Linked DNA regions of Homo sapiens: region 2 is linked to region 1. Evidence: promoter capture Hi-C in human tissues and cell types (Jung and others, 2019). All regions are on one chromosome and are shown on one strand. Each heading gives the region's core, a stretch centred on a gene start or on the middle of the fragment in contact. The rest is flanking DNA. Distances are from core to core; before and after follow the strand shown.

Evidence for each region. The method cuts DNA at HindIII sites, captures the fragments that hold promoters and counts their contacts. A contact is called where the count stands out against the background at its distance.
Region 2: a contact is called between a fragment that was not itself captured here and the fragment with the promoter of TGM2 in region 1, in 1 of the 25 tissues and cell types used here (IMR-90 fibroblasts).

The regions. Positions count from the first base shown.
Region 1 is chr20:38,163,073-38,166,519 of GRCh38, reverse strand. It overlaps TGM2 (transglutaminase 2), which reads left to right and starts at 1,250. Exons shown (of 13, transcript NM_004613.4): 1 at 1,250-1,331. The coding sequence starts at 1,322. RefSeq lists a silencer at 958-1,397. The HindIII fragment of the contact is 7,409 bases long and covers 1-3,447 here.
Region 2 is chr20:38,014,682-38,018,128 of GRCh38, reverse strand. All of the region lies in intron 1 of TTI1 (TELO2 interacting protein 1), which reads left to right. Among named protein-coding and RNA genes, the nearest start is that of TTI1, 17 kb to the left of the region's middle. The HindIII fragment of the contact is 3,197 bases long and covers 220-3,416 here.

The DNA of each region.
Region 1 (3,447 bases), core at 1-2,500:
GCTCAGGGCTCACAGTGGATCCGGAAGCACAGGAGACCAAGAGACCAGAGATACCAGGATGAGAGATAGGACCCCTGGTTGCCAGGTTCGAGAAGTCCTAGGCTGAGTCCCTGGAAAGTTAGTCTTGCTCCTTTCTGGCACACAGTGGGGCCTCAAGAAAGCTCAGTGGATGGATGGATTGAGGGAGGGAGGGAAGAGAAGGCCGAGGGAGGGATGGATGAAGGGATGAGTGGATGGATAGGTGGGGGGGTAGGTGATGCATGGGTGAGTGGATGGATGGGTAGATGGATGGCTGATTAGATGGATGGCTGATTAGACAGATACAAGGATGGGTGAGATCGGAGGATTATCTGGGTTTTGCTACAGGAAGGGACATGGGTGTGTCTGTTTTTGCAGGTGTGTCTGCATGTCTGTACCTGAGTCCATGCCTGCATGTGTGTCTACCTCTGAGTAGCCACATCTTTGTGTGTCTGTGGGTGCCCTCTCTGATTTTGCGTCCACATCTGACAGTGGCATTGGTGTCTAGGAGGTCTGTGTGTGTGCCAGGTGCCTCTGGACACCTGCTCATCTGTGTCCACAGCTGTGTGTGGCTCGCGGTCAAGGCTACCTGGCTGTGTCAGGCTGTATCTATGTCCTGGTGTGTGTCTGCCATTCGAATCTGAATTTGTATCCATGTCACTGTGTCTGCGTGGCCAGCCGTGTTTGGTGTATCTGTGGGAGTGTATCTGTGTTTGTGTGTGTATCTCCACAGCCCTGTCTTGGTGTGTCTGCGTCTGCTCTCTGTGTATGTATATCTGAGTATGTGTGTGAGTGTGTGCGTGTGTGTGTGTGTGTGTGTGTGTGTGTGTTGGGGGTGGGGAGGTGTTCTTGATCCCAGATCTGACCTAAGAGTCCACATCTGTGTGTCCAGGTGCACCCCGGTTCCGTTGTGTGTTTCTATGAGGGTGCTGCGTGTGTCTGTATCTGAGTGTGTGTGTCCAGGTGTCTGTTCTCCAAGGTCTGAGTCTGTGGGTCCAGGTGTGTCTGTATCCTGGGCTAGTTGTGTGTCCCTGTCCGCTCCCCCAGGGGGCGCCCTCGTCCGGCCGCCGTCCCTCCCTCGGGCTCCGGTCCCCTGGGTGAGCCCCAGCGCTGGCGGCGTGGGCCCGGGACTGGGCAATGGGTGGCCTCCCAGGTCGCCGCCTTCCCGCGGGGCCCCGCCCCCGGCCCGCCCCAAAGCGGGCTATAAGTTAGCGCCGCTCTCCGCCTCGGCAGTGCCAGCCGCCAGTGGTCGCACTTGGAGGGTCTCGCCGCCAGTGGAAGGAGCCACCGCCCCCGCCCGACCATGGCCGAGGGTGAGTATCAGAGTCACCGCAGCCGCCACTCAGGGGCCCCGGGGCATTGGGGGTCAGGACCCGGTGGGAGCTGAATCCCTAAGTCCTGATTTGGAGAGCAACAGGCAGACCGGGCTGGGTGAGGAGGCGTCTCAATGCTGCTTGGAGCCTCAGTTTCCCCATCCACACTGCATAACCATTAACCCTTGCCTCCCTGGATCAGGTGAGGCAATGGAACGCGACGGGGTGTTGTAAACTGTAAAGTACTGTCCTGGCGGACCACTGGCACGTGTCCTCAGTCAGTCAGTGGGGGCTGGCTCTCTGATGTGTGCCTGGAGCTGTGCAGGGGGTGCTGGCCTGGCCTCAGAACACTTAGGTTTGGGTGGTTCTTGCCAGCCAGGACCAGGTGGTGTGCATGCCACGCCGGTGGTGTGCAAGCCAAGCCTGGCTGAGTCCTTGGCTCCAGCGGCCAGAGAGGAGCTTTCGGCATCCTATCCAGGAGCCTTCGGAAATCAGGCTTGTTCTTCCCGCCCTCACGTTCTGCAACCCTAGACCTTGGCCAATTGTTGAGTCTCACCTATAAAATAAGGACAACAGTGTCCTTATTTTATAGGACAAGGTTTATGAGATTTGTTTTCCCCCAAGACCCCCACCCATCTGTCACCCTGACCGTGCCCTGGTCCTCTGCTCCAGCCTTTGGTGCATCTGTGAGGAACGAGAGGAGTGGAACAGAGGCTTAACTAATTTCATACTGGTGCCCCTGACTCCCTCCCCACACACAAGCAGCACTCTCGTAGGTCCCAGCTGGAGGGATTTCTACAATGGAGGATGTCACTGCTGGACCCAGAATCCCAGCTGGCTCTTGGGTCAAGTTCATCTGGGGATGGCTTCTGCACCCATTGCAACCCCCAGGAAGGGGTGTGGGACAGGGACATGGGGCAGGTGGAGCAGGAATGGGTGGCAGGAACTGTGGACCCACCTGACCCTGCTGTGTGATCTCAGCCACCTGCCTCCCTCGGGCCCAGCTCCCAACACACTGTGATGTGTCGCCTCGGTGGCCGCTTGTCCTCAATGCATCTTCTCACCCCCATGCTCAAAAGCAGGGCTCAGTGGGGCTGGGAGATCCTGGAGATGCCAGTTATGATGAGCCTCCAGCCCCATGTCACAGTGGCCACTTCTGACAGAGGTCTCACTGGCCTAGAAGGCCTAGGCCCTTTCTAAGTGCAGAAATCCTATAAATCCTACAATTCTAGACCTGCATCTTTGGAGCTGGGCGTGATTTCTGGAAACCCTTCTTCGGACAACAGATGGAGAAAATGCCCCAGCTCCCACAGCCCAGGGACTGGCCGTATCTCCAGGGTCTTCCATGGGAACAACAATGGCCTCTTTCCTGCTCAAGCTCCCTGGGTCTGAAGTTTCCAAAAACATTTCCTCGCCGCAATAGGCCAGCAGGAAGTTTTTCCTTCTGGCCACTGAGGTCTCTTCTGTTGTGATTACACGGGGACCGACATCCCTGATACTTCAGTGGCGCAGAACTATCTGCCCCCAGGTTTGAGAACAACACAGGACATGGTGGCGAAGGGGTGGTCATAAGAGGGGCTGGAGAAAAAACTGAGCTGTAGTGAGGTGGTTCCCAGGGCAGAATCCTACAGAATCCTACAGCTCTGGATTCCAATCCCAAAGCAGCCACTTGCTCTGGGACCTGGAGCCACCTGGTGTCTTTGTCTACAAAATGGGAATCATGATAGCATCTATGTAAGCGGAGTTGTTTTGGGATTTAAGTCGAGATAATTCACATACAAGGCACTTTGCATCTCATTTTTGGAATAGTCGATGGTGAGCAGGAGACCTGGGCTCTCCCACTGCAAGGACCAACTTGCGGCGTGACTTTGAACAAATTCCTGCCCCTGGGCCTCACTTGGACCACATGCTGTCCAGTGGCTCCACACTCAGAGTCTGTCTTGCCCACTCCTCCCACCTTAAGGGCTTCCCCATCCTGACCTTGAGCTTGCCAAGGTTTATGAGATTTGTTTTCCCCCAAGACCCCCACCCATCTGTCACCCTGACCGTGCCCTGGTCCTCTGCTCCATCTGAAACTGTAAATGGAACTTTCACGTATCAAGCTTCTGTCCTGGGC
Region 2 (3,447 bases), core at 569-3,068, 150 kb after region 1:
TTCTCTTGATTACTAGCTGTGGGCATTTACCTCCACACATGCTTAAAAAACTTATTATATACCAAACATTATATAAAAGAATCATAGTGGATGCATATATCTTCCACCATCAAGGTTTGCCCCTTTCTTCTGTTAATTAAATACTTCAGTCTAGTCTGACGTATTTCAGGGATTGAGCTAGGTCACTGCTGGGTTGCAATCCTGGTAAGCCCCAAACTTACTTTGGTTCATCCTTATTAGAGTATGGTCCTCCAGGGCTTTCAGTTGAAAGCCTAATAGGCTATTTGTCTCCTTAGACATGAAAGCCTTTAGGAGGTTCACTTCTGCCCCTAAGGTTTTCAGCTTAGTTATTTAGCCTACCACTACTTCACATCATTTCAAAATTGACTAAATGTCTTGAGGAAGACCCCAACCAAGTAAGTATTTCGAGTCCATCAAATCTCCAGCTTTGTTACCCCAGCTTTGAAGAATACCAAAATCTCTACTGGGTTGTCTTCAGCAGCAGCCTTCTTCCAGAAGTTGGGTATTTGGAGGTCCCTCAAGATTGCAGTTTTGTCTGTCCAGCCCCAGGTGACCATCGAAAGCATTGTGGTTTCTCTTTCCCCAATGATAACCACACCCTAATCCCAAGCCCACGTCCAGGATCAACACATGCACCAAAGGCTCGTGCGCACACACCAAAGGCGCGCGCGCACACACACACACACACACACACACACACACAAGCTATTGATTGTTGATTCCCTCTGAACATTCTCAGTCTGTTAGTCCATCTAGTCCTTGTTGCTTCCACAAGTATTGGATGCTTTAAGAAATGATTTTTGTAATTTATTTGGCTTTTTCTAGTCATTGGCAGGAGTATTAGCCTGCCAAACCATACTATATCCTACTTGGAAGCAGAATCTGTACAGATGTTTTTGAGGGCTTGCCATGTGCCAGATGCTCTTGTAGCTTCTAGGTATAGGATTGCCCTGCCCTCTCAGAGCCTCTAGTCTAAACTAGGTAAAACAGACATATACACAAATAATACAGCATGCCAAATACTGTCATAGAGGTGTGTACAGGGGTAGGAAAAAGGAGACAAATGTGAACTAGCACCACCTGTTTAGAAAATTGCAAGTTTTATAAATTTTACATGATTGCAGGTTAGAGATCAAAGTGGTAGAATAATGAAAAATGAGGTTGGCAAGACAGGCAGAAGCCTGATGGTGAAAGGCCCCGTATGCCATGGTAATGCTTAGGTATAGCTTCTACCTAGAAGTATCTGCCCTTCATGCAGGATGGAGAGCAGTTTAAGAATTAAGCCTAGAGAATTGCGATCAGATTTTTCTTTTAGAAAGATTACTTAAGTGTCATTGTGAAATGTGAATTCGAGGAGGGCAAGAAACAAGCCAAAGGGCCAGAGAGGAAACTGTGAGAGTTGACCCAATATGAAACACATTGGTTATCATCATCAGCAGATTTGAAAGGTGTCAAAGGGGTGGAATTGATGAAATGTAGGGAATGTTGGGATTAAGAGAGGGTGAAAGAAAACAGAGATTCTAGGGTTTCTAGCTTGACTATAAATCACCAAGGGAATATGGCAGAAAGCGATGAGGTCAATGTTAGACATACTGTGTATTCCCATTTCATTAGCTCTATTACGGTTTTTGTTATATAATCTGAGAATGTAGTTTAGGAACCACCACCCTGTCAGGGGGCGGACCCCAAGTTATCTTCTTGAAACTCCTACAGTGAAATAAGAGAGAGAGCCCTAGGCCATTGCCTTCACCCTGGATTTTACAAGACACCCTCTGATTTTGTCCATTTTGTATACCAGGCTTCCACTTAAACATTGTATTTGAAGAAAATTCTCCATACTAAAAGAAAAAAAATTCCTCAGCAGTGTAAGTGTCTTCTTCTGGTGGGATATGTGGGTAATACCCTCTCTTGCATGTTGTTCTTCCATCTTGACAGAAGAACATCTTCAGTGGCATTTGGGGGCCACAATCCTTTATTTGCAGTAAGTAGGTGCTATTCCACTGTCTTCTAGCATCCATTGTTGCCAATGAGGAGTTCAAAGCCAGTTTCTTTTTCTTTTATTTGTTATTTGTCATTTCCTCCTCAAAGCATATGTGATTTTTCTCTTCATATTTAGAGTGAAGGAATTTTACCAGAATGTGGTCAGGTGTGTATCCTTCAAGGCTTTTCGGTCTCCAGATAAATCTTTTTGCAGCTAAGGGAAATGTTTCTCCTTTCAAATTCCCCCTTACATGCTGGTTCTTCCAGATCTGTCCTCCAAGTCTCACAGTTTGCGTCTCTGCATCCCTGCTTTGGGTAAGACAGGTCCACTTGATCTACTAGGCCACTAATTGGGTTTTGGCAATTAACTGTCTTTTTAAAAATTTCATCAGTGGAGCTTTTTTGTGTGTGGAAAATTATGCTTTTAATTCTAAGAGACATCTTTGGTGTCATAATTGAACTTGGTCTTTTTATTATTATTATTATTAAAATTCTTATCTGCCTCTTTTTCTGGTTCTGTTAATCTAAGATTCACCACCTCAAGGAGTGCTCAAATGCTTTTTCTACCCATGACTGCTGGATCCCATTAAGCAATTCTCTTTCTTTCCTACTTCTTGATCCAACTACCAGTATCTCAGGCAGGGAGGTGGCAAAGCAGCCTCTGGTTCATCAGTGTATGAGCCAGTGCACATGGGATGTCATTAGACCCCAGCCAAGCTTTGTGGCTGCCACGCGTGGCATTTTTCTAGCCTGAGATAGGGAAGAGTCAAGCTTCTTCCCTTCTCTGGCTTCTTGGGGCCACAGAGAGCATGAGATACACCCCAACGAAGCCTCACAGTGACGAACAGTGCCCTTCCTCATAGGGTTCCAGGGAGGTCAGTAGACCAGACTCTCCAGCGTATCAGAGTCTCTCCATGGGGAAATTTGGCACCAGCTCTCTTTCTGGACTGAGCAGGCCTTGCTCACGCCCGCTGGCACGACTTGCCTGCCAATCTATAGCCACCGAGTTCGGGAGTGTTCATGGAATTGGGGGTAGACAGAAGCAGCACAAGCACTTTCTTATCATCTCTTCAAAAGCCCCCAGCAAGTAGAGAAAAAAGAAAGACCACAAGACCACCAGACTAGATGATCTCTAAGCCTCCATCCAATGCCGACATTTTACAGTTATACACATTTATGGTCTCCAACTCAGCTCAGTCCTCAGTACCCTTGGGCCACACTTTTGTAAGTCTTCCCAGCATGCTCTGCTTCCCCAAAGGGAGTATTTGAGACTTTTATTTCTCTCCTCAAGCCCTCTGTTTATCCTTCTCCTTGTTCACTGTCAGCCCATGACTTTGAATTTCTCTTCACAAAAAAAAAGACAGACTCTTGGATATTGAGTTGTTCTTTGCTTTCCTGTAATCCTTTCTCCTTTGCCTGCTCGCCTGCTTGCCTGCCTGCTGTCCA